3 separate regions of the Homo sapiens genome follow, and all the other regions are linked to region 2. Evidence: promoter capture Hi-C in 16 types of primary human blood cells and fetal thymus (Javierre and others, 2016). All regions are on one chromosome and are shown on one strand. The core of a region is centred on a gene start or on the middle of the fragment in contact, and the rest is flanking DNA. Distances in the headings are between cores, read along the strand shown.

Region 1 (4,431 bases), core at 1,710-4,209, 750 kb before region 2:
AAGGTGTTGGATTTTTGGAATTGTTTGTTTTGCAGTGTTATCTCAGGAAAAGCTGACTAATATGCATGTATTGAGTGGTTCCTATGTGCAGATCCTGAGGACTATACTGTGAGTTCTTGGAGACCGAAGGGAGAAGGCCCACCTCATTCACTTCTGTATCCCCTTCCCTGCCCTATGCCTTGATGAGTTAAGCGTAAGAGCCCTTGTTCAGCCTCAGCACACTTGGGTGAGTCAAGAACTAAGGTCCAGATGGGAAAATGATGCTCAGGGTCACTATCAGTTCAGGGTTGCTTTGAGATTCAAAACCAGGCTGGATACGGTGGCTCACACCTGTAATCCCAGAACTCTGGGAGACCAGGGTGGGAGGATCACTTGAGCCCAGTAGTTTGAGACCAGTCTGGGCAACATACCAAGACCCTTTCTCTAAAAAAAAAAAAAAAAAATTAGCTGGGCATGGAGATACATGCTTGTGGTCCCAGCTACTTGGGAGGCTGAGGTTAAAGGATCACTTGAGCTTGGGAGGTCAAGGCCACAGTAAGCCATGATTATGCCACTGCACTGTAGCCTGGGCAACAGAGCAAAACCCTATCTAAAAAAATACAACAACAACAAAAAAAAAAGAAACCAGACTCTTGCATGGAGCCACCTCTATCTAATGTCCATGCCTTTGGGTACCCCAAACCTAGTGTCTTCTCCTTTGAGAGATGAAGAACACCAATTTTGGCTTCCTGAATGTTACCCAGGGCGATCCAAGGAATCTAGGACAGGACAAAGATCCAGCTGCTGCAGTGGGAGTGGAGATGTGGTTGGATCAGATACAGATGATGCTCGTTTAGGCATCTGTCAGCCGCCCGGCAAAACTTCCCCAAATATCCTCTTTGCACTAGGCTGGGACTGGGGTTCTACAGGGAGCTAAGGCACAGGCCCTGGCCTTGGAGAGCTCAGTCCAGAAAAGTAAGCATGTGAGGATCCCAACCCTTTGAAGATCATGAAGCTCCTGAGACAATTTTTTTCTGACGAAAATCTGTGAATGCTTATCCAGAAAAACACACACCTAGTTGTACATGCCAGTCACACACACATCACAGAGTGCACGGAGCCCTTGAAAACCTTCCCAAAACAATGAAGATTCAGTGCGTGCAATGTTATTACAGGCTTTATAGCATGGAGGTTAAGATCACAAGCTGGAGCCAGACTTCTTGGGTTCAAATCCTGGCTCTAGTATATATGACCTCTGTGACCTTGGGCAAGTTCCTTAACTTCTCTGTGTCTTCATCTGTAAAAGGGGGATAGTAACAGTAGCTACCTCAGAGTTTGTTCAGATAATAAAATGAATCAATAGGTATAACAGGCTCACACTGATAGGGTAAGCACATACCGAGGGACATGTGACCTGGTCTGGGACGGGGGCTGCATTAGTCCCTTCTCATGCTGCTATACACACATACCCAAGACTAGGTAATTTATAAAGGAAAGAAGTGAAATTGACCCACAGTTCCTCATGCCTGGGGAGGCCTCAGGAAACTTACAACCATGGCAGAAGAAGAAGCAAACACATACTTCTTCACATGGTGGCAGGAGAGAGAAGTGCCGAGCAAAGGGGGAAAAGCCCCTTATAAAACCATCAGATCTTGTGCAAACTCACTCACTATCATGAGAAAAGCATGGGGGTAACCACCCCCGTGATTCAATTACCTCCTACTAGGTCCCTCTCACAACAGGTGGGGATTATGGGAACTTCAATTCAAGATGAGATTTGGGCGGGGACACAGCCAAACCATATCAGGGGCTACCAGGTGAAGTCAGGAAAGCTCCCTCGTGAGTGGGGGTCACTGGAATGGGATCTCAAAGAACAAACAGGAACCACCCAGACAAAGATGTGCATGCCTGGCAGAAGGGGCAGCAGGTTCAGAGGAAAGGAGAGGAGAAAAAGCTTGGGATGTAGGGGATATGAAGGGGGCTGACTTGAAGATGTGTCTCTACCACCCCCATAACAGGGGGAGGCAGGGATAGCTGGGTGGGGCAGCAGCAGAGAGGAAGTCTCTTTTGCCAAGCCAGATCATCTGCCTCCTCCTCCAGGAAGCCTCCTTGACATCCCAGCCAGATGCACCTCTTCCTTCTCAGTCCCAGAGCACTTGCTGTGGGTGCCACAGGAGGGGGTTTCTGCTATGCCCCCTCAACTTCCAGCTGAGGCTCCTCTCGCCCCCTTAACTCTAAGCCCATGAGGGAGGGCTTGTGTTTGTTCCCCTGTACCAAGTTTGGGGTCCCTCACACAAAGTCCTTCTCCAGTGCCCACAGGGTGAAGGCCGACTCCTTAGCCTGGCATTCCAGACCCTTCATGACCCACCATTTTGCAGTCTCTCCTGCAACATCCCTAATGTTTCCTAGGTTCCTGCCATCCCTAACTCTTTCCCCCTTCCTTGGTAGAGCTGCCAGATTTAGCAAACACAAATATAGGATGCTGCTCAGTCAAATTTAAATTTCAGATGAACAACAAATACATTTTGGTATAAGTACGCCCCGTGCAATATTTGGGACATATTTGTACTAAAACATTTATTTTTAAAAAATTCAAATGTAATCATGTGTCTTCTATTTTATCTAGCAACTCTACCTTCCATGGACACTCTTGAGTTTTTGCAAGCACTGTTGCCCCTGTCTGAAATACCCTTTCCTCACTTGTCTTGCAGTGTCCTACTCATCGTTCAAGACTCAGCGCAAGTGCCACCTCTGCTGGGGAGACTTCCCAGATGTCCCAGCCAGGGGTTGTGGGTCCAAATTGTCTCCCCTCCCACCTATTGTCCTAATATACCTGTCCATCTTCTTTAAGGATGTGGATTTCCTGAGGCCAGGGACCATGTCTTGCTCATCTCTGGATCCCCCCAGGTTTGCCACACAGTAAGTGTTCACTAATTATTGACATAATGAATGAACATTAAACTGGTATTCAAAAATCTACAAAACCTGGGATGCAGTACCAGACATGGACACTAAGTGCCACTGTACAACATGGGCTCTGCTCAGACTTGAAAACAGGTTAGATTCTGTAAACTGGGTGGGTGCCCACTTAGAGATGTTGGAGGTTTTAAGCCCCTGATTATGTGAGGGAGATGAGAGGCGGCTGCTGGTTCCATAGGTGCCTCATGAGAGTGAGGAACCAACCTGAGCAGCTCCCTTCATTAAAGCTGGGCAAGGGATTGGAAGCTGTTTCATTTTTCATTTTTGTCTCTCTCTGTCTGACTATATTTTTGAGACAGGGTGTTGCTCTGTGACCCAGGCTGGAGTGCAGTGGCGCGATTATGGCCCATTGCAGCCTCGACCTCCCAGACACAAGCGATCCTCCCACCTCAGCCTCCCTAGTAGCTAGGACTACAGGCACATACCATCACACCCGGCTAATTTTTGTATTTTTGGTAGAGACAGGGTTTCATCATGTTACCCAGGCTGGTCTGGAGCTCCTGGACTCAAATGATCCACCCGTCTCAGCTTCCCAAAGTGCTGGGATTACAGACATGAGTCACTGTACCCAGCTGGAAGCTGCTTCATATCCTTGTTTTTTCACTTGATTGCACTGTGACCTTGGGAAAGACCCTTCACTTCCCTGAGCCCCTGTTTTCTATTCCAAATAAATGGAACAATAAATGCCAAGCTCTCAGGGCTGTTGTGAAGATAAAATTTGATCAGGTAGTGCCTGGCACATTGGAGATGCCCGAGAGACGCCAATTCCCTTCGGTCTCTCCTCTCCCTGGGGTACCTTTATCTGAACAGTGATTAAGCACCAAGGGACGATGGGAAGAGATTCAGTATGAAATCCACTAGTCCTTAGTCTGAGCACTTACCTGGTAGCTTAGGGCCAGTGAGGCATTGGGTGCATGTCTTAAGCCTTCCAGGCCTCAGTTTTCTCATCTCTAAAGTGGGTTAATGCAAGTAGGTACCATAAAAGGTGGTTTTGGAGATTTAAAAGGAAAATACAGGTAAAGCTTTTTAGCACAGTCTCTAGCACATAAAAAGACTTAATAAATGTTGGCTCCCACCATCACTGTTATCATCAAAACCATTATAGAGGCCAGGCGCAGTGGCTCATGCCTGTAATCCCAGCACTTTGTGAGGCCGAGGGCTGGATCACCTGAGGTCAGGAGTTCGAGAACAGCCTGACCAACATGGTGAAACCCCATCTCTACTAAAAATACAAAAAATTAGCCGAGCGTGGTGGCACATGCCTGTAATCCCAGCTACTTGGGAGACTGAGGCTGGAGAATCACTTGAACCCGGGAGACGGAGGTTGCAGTGAGCTTGCGTCATGACACTCCAGCCTGGGCAACAAGAGCAAAACTCTGTTGTCACACACACAAAAAAAACCCCCAAAAAACAAACAAACAAAAAAACCATTATAGAGTAAGCCCTTTCCCATGTTCATTAAATGGATGGATG
Region 2 (4,406 bases), core at 914-3,413:
TATCGTTGTTATTATTATTTTCCACCATACCATACTGAGTCTCCAGGAAGTGAATATGCTGGTTCAAAATAGGTCAGCACTTCAGTACCACCCTTAAACACAGGTGAGAGTGGCCCCTGCCCTGGGGACCCCCCCAGTCTGGCCCTCCTCCAGCTAACCTCTCATCACAAGGAGGGAAGACCATGGGACAAGGGGACATGCCCACCTGGAACTTGTGGCACCTCCACTAGAGCATACTCTGGGTGCCCAGGCCCCTGGGGTTCCCTGCAGAGATGGCCCTTAGCCCACTGCCAGGACCTGCGTGGGTCTCTTCCGCAGATCCAGCCCGAGGACAGAGTACACCACTGGCGTGCCCAGCCCTAAGCCTGAGGGGCTACCAAGGGGCTGAGCTTGCATGTGCAGGCTGAGATGTTCATGAATGTGCACAAGACTCTCGAAGGACAGGACAGAGGCAGAGGTAGGAAAAGGTAGGGGGCAGGGGCCCAGGCCAGGCACTAGGGGCCCCCTCTCCCTGTGCCACCAGCTCCAGGGCAAGGTCTGAGGAGTATGAGAATGCCACACTCAAAGCCAGCTTTCTGCCTTGTTAGGAAAGTGTATTTGTCAAGATAGAAGAATAGAACATAATTTATTTTGCATTTTGTTAGCTTGATTTATAGCCTGCAAATATTTGGACATATGGTATGTGAACCTCCATCTATACTCTTGCCCAGCCCCACAAATCCCTGCCACGTTCCACCCAGTCCCAATACCAAATGTTTACTGAGCCCTTCCTCTGTTCTGAGCCCAGGGGACCCCAGGGCACCATCCCAGCACCCAAACATGATGGCCTCTGTGGGAGCAAACTTCATACTCCAAAATCAGTGAAGAACTAAGATCAGGGGGTGAGGGCATAGACCTGGTCCTTGCCTCTGTTCCCAACCCCTAGGGAGGTGGGACAGGTGCCTCCCTTTCCGGGCCTTAGTTTTACTGTTTAGATAAGAGGTCCCTCTACCTGTGAGCAGCTGGGGGATGCAGCCTGGAGGATGAGTAGCACACAGAATCAGATCAGTGACCTGAGAGGGTGTGGCGTGGACTTGGGCAGACAATTCTTAGGGGTTACAGTGATGTGGAATTGAGCTCTCTGGACTAGCCAAGCACAGGCTGTTGCAGCCCATTCCATTCCATTCATTTATTCCTTCCACAAACATGGCAGGCACCGCCCTGTGCCCAAAACAAACAAGAGGCTGAATCTGCCTAGTATGGGAGGATAAATCGAACAAGCACATAGAAAACCAAATGCAAAGTAAGACTTGGTGAGTGAGCCAAGAGAGCTTCCCTAAACTCCTCCTGTCCTCCCAATCACAGCGTCTTAAGCCCACTTCCCGGATGAGAAAACGGAGGCTCAGAGTCAAGACCCTGCTGCCTGGGGCGCGCCCAGACCTTGTGGCTAGCCAGAAGCGAGGTTTCGGATTCCCACAGTCTCGGGCCACTGTCCCAAGCTGCCCAAAGCTGGGGAGGCCCCGTCCAGCTCCCGGAAGGCTGTAGGGAGGTGAGCGCCAGGGAGGGGCTGGGCCGCAGGACGCGGGGGCCAGGAGGCAGGGAGGGGCCGGGCGGGGGGCGGTCGGGAGACATCCAGCGCCCCGATGTGCAGCCCCAGGCACCCGGAGCGCCAGCGCCTGGGTGCGCGCGAGTGGTAGCCGCGCTCCGGTGGGTCCGCCGCGGTCGGACCGGGGTCTGGGCTCCAGGCGCCGGCGGGGGGCGGTGGGGGGGGTAGGGGGACAGCGAGGGCCGCGCTGCAGTGCCCGCAGCGGCGGGTTGGGGGAGCTGTGCCCGCCTGTCCCCTAGGCCCGGGCGGCGGCCGGGCAGCTGGGTCGCCGCGCCTCTAGCCGGGCCGGGCTCGGCGGCGCGCAGCCAGGCGTGCCTGGAGCGGGCTCGGGCCCCAAGTCCTCCGGAGCGCCCAGCCGGGGAGGCCCCGGGAGCAGCCCAGTCCCGCGGGCTAAGGCGGCAGCCGCCGCCGCTCCGGCCCGCCCCCGGGGGGGTGTCCCGGGCCGCTGGGCCCGCCCAGGTAACCCCATCCTCGGCCCGCCCCCGGCCCGCCCCCCCGGCCGCCCGCCCGCCCGCCCGCCTCCGCCGCCGCCGCCGCCGCCGCCGCCGCCGCATCCCGGCTCTGGGGCGGCGCTGACAGTCTGGTCCGCGCCGGGCAGCGGGCGCAGCAGCGGGCAGGCTGCCGGCAGGCACACGGAGGCAGAGCCCCGCCGCGCGCGCCCCGGCCCGCCCGCGGGCGCCCACCTGCAGCCCCGACGGGAGGCCCCCCGCGGCCGCAGCCGCTGCCCCGGGCCGGGCGCCCGCGGCGGCACCATGAGTCCCCGCTCGTGCCTGCGTTCGCTGCGCCTCCTCGTCTTCGCCGTCTTCTCAGCCGCCGCGAGCAACTGGCTGTAAGTCTGGCCGGGGCCGAGCGGGGCGGGGCGGGGCGGGGCAGGCCCCGGGGGCAGCGGCCGGTGCCAGGCGGCGCGGGGCAGCGGGCGCGGGGCAGCCCGGCAGGTGTCTCGGCCGCGGGACCGGAGGCTCGCTCGCTCCGCTGCCGCCGCCACGGCCCGAACGTCCCTCTGCACACCCGGGGTCCCCTCCTGCCCGGGTCCGGCTCCCTGCCCAGAGGCGTCAGGGGTGGCTGTGGCGGCGTCCGCACCGGTAGGCGGCTCGGGGCTCTCGAGGGCGCCAGGGGTGCGAGCGCGGGGCGGTGGCCCGGGAGGGGCGCCGGACGCGGGTTGCAGTCCAGCCGGGCTGACAGGTCGCTGAGGAAGCCCATTGCAGGGAAGGGCTCCGGGACATAATAGCAGGTTAATCCCGAGAAGTCCGGAGCGAGCTCCCAGCGCCGAGCTGCGCCGAGCTGCGCCGCGCTGCGGGCTGGGCTGGAGGCGTGCAGGGACCTGTTTCTGCTTGGGGGGCGGGAGCCGGAGACAGAAGGAAGGGACCAGGACGCCTGGTCTCCCAGGGCCCGGGGCTGGCGCTGGCGCTGGCCGGGCCTTGGTTTTTCCCCGGGGCAGGAAGAAACTCCGTCCAGACCTTAAAGAAGACAACGGCCCCCCAGCTCCCCGTGTCTAGCCTAAGGAGGAAGGGGTGGTAACCGCTGGTGACCTGTCTGTTTCTCCTTGACTGGATCTGCGCTCAGGGCGCTCCCTGGGTAGGGGCGGAAGGTTTGCTGCAGGGAGGGAGACTAAAGGGATGAGCTCCAGTGAGTGGGTGGACAGGGAGCAAGCGGACCCGCGCTCCTTTCATCCCCGCTCAGGGACAGTTCCCCATGCCCCGCGCTTAACCCTGGCCCCAGTTCCTCCTGCCCAGAGCTCTGCCACCATCCGCTGTGGGCAGCCAGTGGGGAGCCAAGCTCCAATATTGATCTGAAAAGCATGGGGTGGGAAGGGGGATCGCCAACAGTGTAGCTGGGGTTTCCATGGAGACAGGGAGAGAGGAAAAAATTCTCTCTGCATCAAGACCAAAGAACAAATATCTCCCATGAAATTGCCCCGAGTGTCCAATGGCTGTTGCTATGAGGTCATTGTGGCCAGCCAGAGCCCTCCAGGCTGGAAGGAGTGTGTTCGTTGGGGTCAGAGCCACCCAGGGCTTGGGGGACGGAGGTGATGTGGAATTCTCCCAGCTGTTCCGAGAGCAAACGACTCCAAGGCAGCCCGAAGTGGCTGCGGAGCTTTTGTTTTTCTTGGAGCCTTAATTTGATTAACACTTCAGGAGCAGTGGCAGAGTGTACAGAAAGCAAGGCACCACCACCTTCTCCCACTGCCCCCCTGCAGGCCACCCCCTGAATGGAGCCTGGGTCACAGAGCTGGGGAGGGAGCTGATTTGGACTTGGAGGACCCTGGGTGTCCCTGGAGCTGGTTCTTGAATGCATGGGTTCAGAGCGGGGGCCTCCAAAACAGATCTGAGCATCAGAAGGAGCAAGAACTGTGTCTCACCTGCCCAGCACCGCCAAAGCCACAAAAAACAAACAAACAAACAAAAAACAAAGAAAAAAAAGTGGCAGTCCAAGCGTCTGGCCCAGGCCTACATGGAAGACAGCGACATCTGCAGTGGAAAGTCCTTCAGGAACATCTCATCTTTGACTCAGATGAGGAAACTGAGGCCTAGGGAGTGGAAGCTACTTGCCCAAACTCAGAGCTGAGAACTGAACCCAGGTGTTCTGACTCCCAGGCAGTGACCCTATACCCCCTTCCCTGAAGCTGTCCCAAAGTGGAGCCAGCATGGCCCGGTGGCATCACCACTCACCTTCACCCATGTCCACCCCCAGAATCCCAGCCAGGAAGGCAGCCTCGGCTTTGGATCATGCAAACTGTGGGGAATTCCAACAACTCAGTTCTCCTGCCTGTGCTGTTGGGGGTGGGGTGAGGAGGGGCAGCCTAGGAGAAGAGAGGTTGGCA
Region 3 (4,875 bases), core at 340-2,839, 800 kb before region 2:
GATCTACATCTGTATATTTGTTTTCTTTTCTTTCTTTCTTTTCTTTTTCTTTTTCTTTTTTTTTTTTTTTGAGACAGAGTCTCGTTCTGTCACCCAGGCTGGAGTGCAGTGGTGCGATCTCGGCTCACTGCAACCTCTGCCTTCTGGGTTCAAGAGATTCTCCTGCCACAGCCTCCTGAGTAGCTAGGACTGCAGGCGTGCACCACCATGCCCAGCTAATTTTTTGTATTTTTAGTAGAGACGGGGTTTCACCATGCTGGCCAGGTTTGTCTCGAACTCCTGACCTCAAGCAATCCACCTGCCTTGACCTCCCTAAGTGCTGGGATTACAGGTGTGAGCCTCTGTGCCCGGCCTACATCTGTATATTTCTGATAAGCCTCCAAAATTCTTTCCAAAATGCTAATGGGTTCTCATCCACTTCTTGTCTAGATATAGTCATGGGAAATCAAAATTTGACCTCCCCCCAAAAAATAATAATAAAACAAAATTCAACCCCAGAATGCAGCCTGCTTGAGTAAATTATTCAAAATTGATAAATTATATCTTACAACTAGTTTCATTTTGCTATCAAATGGGAAAGTAGGATGAAATCCCTGATGTCTAAGCTTTTATACTCCTTTATCAGAACAAACCAATCAAGTTAAATGTAAAATTCTGATGCAATGGATGGAGGCTTTTAAGAAGGGTGGTGAGTCTGCACTTTTCCCTATGATCCCCATGTCACCAGCAAAGAAGAATTCTCCTTAGAGCCTACTACAACTTCTATAACCCCAGCCCAGCCATCTCAGCACTCTCCACCAGCTGCCTTGGGGTCAGCTTCAGCCTCTTTGATGGCCCCAACCCCTGAGACTTCCAAACCCTGCAAAACCCTTTCCTGACTCCTGCTAGCCCTCTCACTTATGGACCCAGGACCCGTACCTGAGTTCTGCCAGGTCTTCCCCCATATTTTCCTTTGCTCTCTCCTTTCACCAAGGAGACATCTGGGAACTCCAGAGAAATGGTCTCATCCTCTTGGACCCATCAGGGGACACAATTTGGCTGGGTTCTGCTACCCTTCTCTACAGGGCAGTTCCCTCTGAGACAGGTCCCTGTTGGGGGTTTAGCTGAAGAAGGACAGCCCGCTGGAATGATGCAAACTTACATAATTGTAAGCAGACCAAACCTGCTTATAGGGATGACCTGAAATGTATAACTAACCTCTTTGAGTCTATTTTCATGACTCATGGCCCTACATGGGCTGATGTTCAGAGCCTCCTTAAAGTCTTGCTGACATCTGAAGAGTGTCATACAGTGCTAGAAAAGGCTCAGGAAAAGGCTGATCGGTTACACACAGAAGATCCTAATAATGGGGTGAGGACTGGTTACAGTCTGGCAGTGCCCCTCCATGACCCCAGCTGGAAGCTGATCAACAGGGGTTCTGGACTGTTTTCTGGTGGGGCTCAGGAAGGGAGTCCCTCAAACCAAAAGTTTAAAGAAGGTGCAGGAAATAGACACACACGTACACACATGCGCACGTGCGCGCACACACACACACACACACACACACACACAAACACTTATCAAAATACAATCTAGGCCGGGTGTGGTGGCTCATGCCTATAATCTCAGCACTTTGGGAGGCCAAGGCAGGTGGATTACTTGAGGTCAGGAGTTCGAGACCAGTCTGGCCAACATGGCGAAACCCTGTCTCTATTAAAAATACAAAAATTAGCTGGGTATGGTGGTGCATGCCTGTGGTCCAAACTACTTGAGAGGCTGAGGCAGGAGAATCACTTGAACCCAGGAGGTGGAGGTTGCAGTGAGCCAAGATCACGCCACTGCACTCAAGCCTGGGTGACAGACTGAAACTCAGTCTCAAACCAAAACAGAACAAAAATCAATCTAACTGCAGTAGTGATTAACAAGCCCCCAAAGTGTCTGAACTGAAATAGAGTGCTTTCCACTCTCACATTAGTGGGTTGGGCTTGTTTAACCTGCAACAAATGGAAATTCTTCAGAATTTCCCAATTTGACAGGAGCAGCTCCTACTGTCTAGTACCCACAAAGGACACTCACCTGTCCAGATGCAGATGTCAAATTTCAAAGAATATTCTTCCTAGGCAATCAGGACTGCAGTTGGGGCCAAAGAGAGAGAGACTGAAACCTCTGGCCAAATATGGCTGGGCATCTGCTAGAAGGGTTTTCAAAACTCTCCCAGCCTGTGGCTGCCAAGTCACAAGCAATGCAATCCAAGTCAGGACACCAGAATTTTGTTGCTGAATGCCAGGGGTTTGACCTAGGTCCAGTTCTCACCCACAGAAAGCCAATCACTGAGACAACGAGTATTGCCAAGGAAGAAAGGCTTTATTGTGGGTGATGTCAGCCAGGAGATGAGAGACAAGTCTCAAATCTCTCTCCCCAACCAACTAAAGTTAGGGGTTTATATAGGAGTTGGTCAACAGGCATCAGGGAGTCAGATAAGGGGTCTGGCACCTCACCGTCCAGATGCAGTGATGTGGAAAGTTTCAGCTCCCTGATAGCCAATTTCCTGTGAAAGGAACTCAGATAAGAAAAATGTAAGTTTCTCAAGCTTCAAGACTGGAAGGGTCAATTTCTATCTTATTAAAAACACTTGTAAACATCAGTTCTGAGAAAATTGGGTCTGTTCAATGGTATATAATTGTTTTGATATGTTGCTGACTTCTATTTGCTAATATTTTGTTAAGAATTTTTGCATCTATACTCATGAGGAATATTGGTCTGTAGTTTTCTTTCTTTTTTTGTATATTATCTTTGTTTGGTTTTGGTATCAGGATAATATTAGCTTCATAAAATGAATTGGGAAGTGTTTCTGCCTCTTCTATTTTCTGGAAGAGATTGTGTAGATGGTATTAATTCTTCTCTAAACACTTGGTAGTATTCTCCAGTGAAACTACCTGGCTCTGGAGATTTTCTTTTTTGGTAATTAAAAAACATTGTTAATTCAATTTCCTAAATGGTTATGGGGCTATTCAATATGAGCAAGTTGTGGTAGTTTTGGCTTTTCCCAGAATTGGTCTATTTCATCAAAATTGTTGAATTTATGTCTGTAGAGTTATACATAGTGTTCTCTTATTATTTTTTTGATATCTGCAGGGCCTAAAGTGACATCCCGTTTCATTCTTCATATTGATAATTTATATCTTCTCTCTTTTTTCCTGTTAGTCTTTCTAGAAGTTTGTCAATTTTGAAACAGTGAAGCAAACCAGTTTTTTGTTTCATTGGTTTTCTTTCTTGCTTTTCTGTTTTTAATGTTATGCTGTTATTTTATTATTTCAATCTTCTGCTTGCTTTGAGTTTATTGTGTTCCTTTTTTCCTAGATTTTTTTTTCTGGATTCTTGACATGGGAACTTAGATTATTGATTTGATAATGCAATTACTGTTTGTTTTAGGCCAGTAAATATTGAAGTTCTTTATTACACGACAAGAGAAAGCTGGAACAGTTATGAGGTACCCAACCGAAATTGAGTCATGAACAGCACTGATGTAAACTGCACTGAGCCTTTGCATTTATGAGTGTGGAGCAGGATAATATATCAAGAATTAGGCCAGACACAATGGCATATGTCTGTAATCCCAGCACTTTGACAGGCCAAGGCCCAGGAGTTTGAGACCAGCCTAGGCCACATAGTGAGACCCTGTGTCTAGAAAATTAAAAAAAAATTTAGCTGGGTGTGGTGATGCACACCTGTGGTCCCAGCTATTAGGAAGTCTAAGGTGGGAGGACTGCTTCCTCTTTTCTGATGTAAGCATTTATTGCTATCAATTTCCCTCTTACCACTGCTTTAGCTATGCCCCACATGTGTTAATATGGAGTATTCTTATTCTCATTAAAGTAAATATATTGTTAAATTTCTTTTGAGATCTATTCTTTGACCACATGAATTATTTATAAGTGTATAGCTTTGTTTCAAAGGGTTCAGAGATTTTCATGTTATCTCTATACTGTTGATTTCTAGTTTGATTCCACTGTGGTCAGAGAACACATTTTGTATGATTTCAGTTGTTTTTTTAGTTTGTTGAGGTTTGTTTTGTGGCTCAGGGTGTGGTCTATCTTGGTATATATTTCATTGGTGCTTGAAAACAATGTGTGTTCTGCTATTGTTGGGTGGATTGTTGGATGCCGATTAGATCCTGTTGGTTGTAGGTATTGAATTCTGTATCCTTCATGATTTTCCATCTGTTGTTCTATGAATTGTTAAGAGGGAAATGATATCGTGAAAATGGTGATACTACCCAAGGTAATTTATAGATTCAATGCCATCCCCATCAAGCTACCAATGACTTTCTTCACAGACTTGGAAAAAACTACTTTAAAGTTCATATGGAACCAAAAAAGAGCCCGCATTGCCAAGTCAATCCTAAGCCAAAAGAACAAAGCTGGAGGCATCACGCTACCTGACTTCAAACTATACTACAAGGCTACAGTAACCAAAACAGCATGGTACTGGTACCAAAACAGAGATATAGACCAATGGAACAGAACAGAGCCCTCAGAATTAATGCCGCATATCTACAACTATCTGATCTTTGACAAACCTGACAAAAACAAGCAATGGGGAAAGGATTCTCTATTTAATAAATGGTGCTGGGAAAACTGGCTAGCCATATGTAGAAAGCTGAAACTGGATCCCTTCCTTACACCTTATACAAAAATTAATTCAAGATGGATTAAAGAGTTACATGTTAGACCTAAAACCATAAAATCCCTAGAAGAAAACCTAGGCAATACCATTCAGGACATAGGCATGGGCAAGGACTTCATGTCTAAAACACCAAAAGCAATGGCAACAAAAGCCAAAATTGACAAATGGGATCTAATTAAACTAAAGAGCTTCTGCACAGCAAAAGAAACC

The links. The method cuts DNA at HindIII sites, captures the fragments that hold promoters and counts their contacts. A CHiCAGO score of 5 or more calls a contact.
Region 1: a fragment that was not itself captured here is called in contact with the fragment with the promoter of WNT4 in region 2 in 1 of 17 cell types (M0 macrophages); the score reaches 5.6 in M0 macrophages.
Region 3: a contact is called between a fragment that was not itself captured here and the fragment with the promoter of WNT4 in region 2, in 1 of 17 cell types (M2 macrophages). The highest score is 6.8, in M2 macrophages.

The regions. Positions count from the first base shown.
Region 1 is chr1:22,887,974-22,892,404 of GRCh38, reverse strand. All of the region lies in intron 6 of EPHB2 (EPH receptor B2), which reads right to left. It overlaps LOC124903874 (a long non-coding RNA gene), which reads left to right and starts at 2,845. Exons shown (of 3, transcript XR_007065534.1): 1 at 2,845-2,898. RefSeq lists a silencer at 2,688-2,893. The HindIII fragment of the contact is 2,047 bases long and covers 1,936-3,982 here.
Region 2 is chr1:22,140,854-22,145,259 of GRCh38, reverse strand. WNT4 (Wnt family member 4) reads left to right here and starts at 2,163. Exons shown (of 5, transcript NM_030761.5): 1 at 2,163-2,414. The coding sequence starts at 2,338. LOC105376845 (a long non-coding RNA gene) reads right to left here and starts at 4,307. Exons shown (of 5, transcript XR_947050.1): 1 at 4,255-4,307. RefSeq lists silencers at 1,744-2,073, 2,636-2,695. The HindIII fragment of the contact is 11,467 bases long and covers 1-4,406 here.
Region 3 is chr1:22,939,050-22,943,924 of GRCh38, reverse strand. No RefSeq gene overlaps it. Among named protein-coding and RNA genes, the nearest start is that of LACTBL1, 31 kb to the left of the region's middle. The HindIII fragment of the contact is 1,964 bases long and covers 608-2,571 here.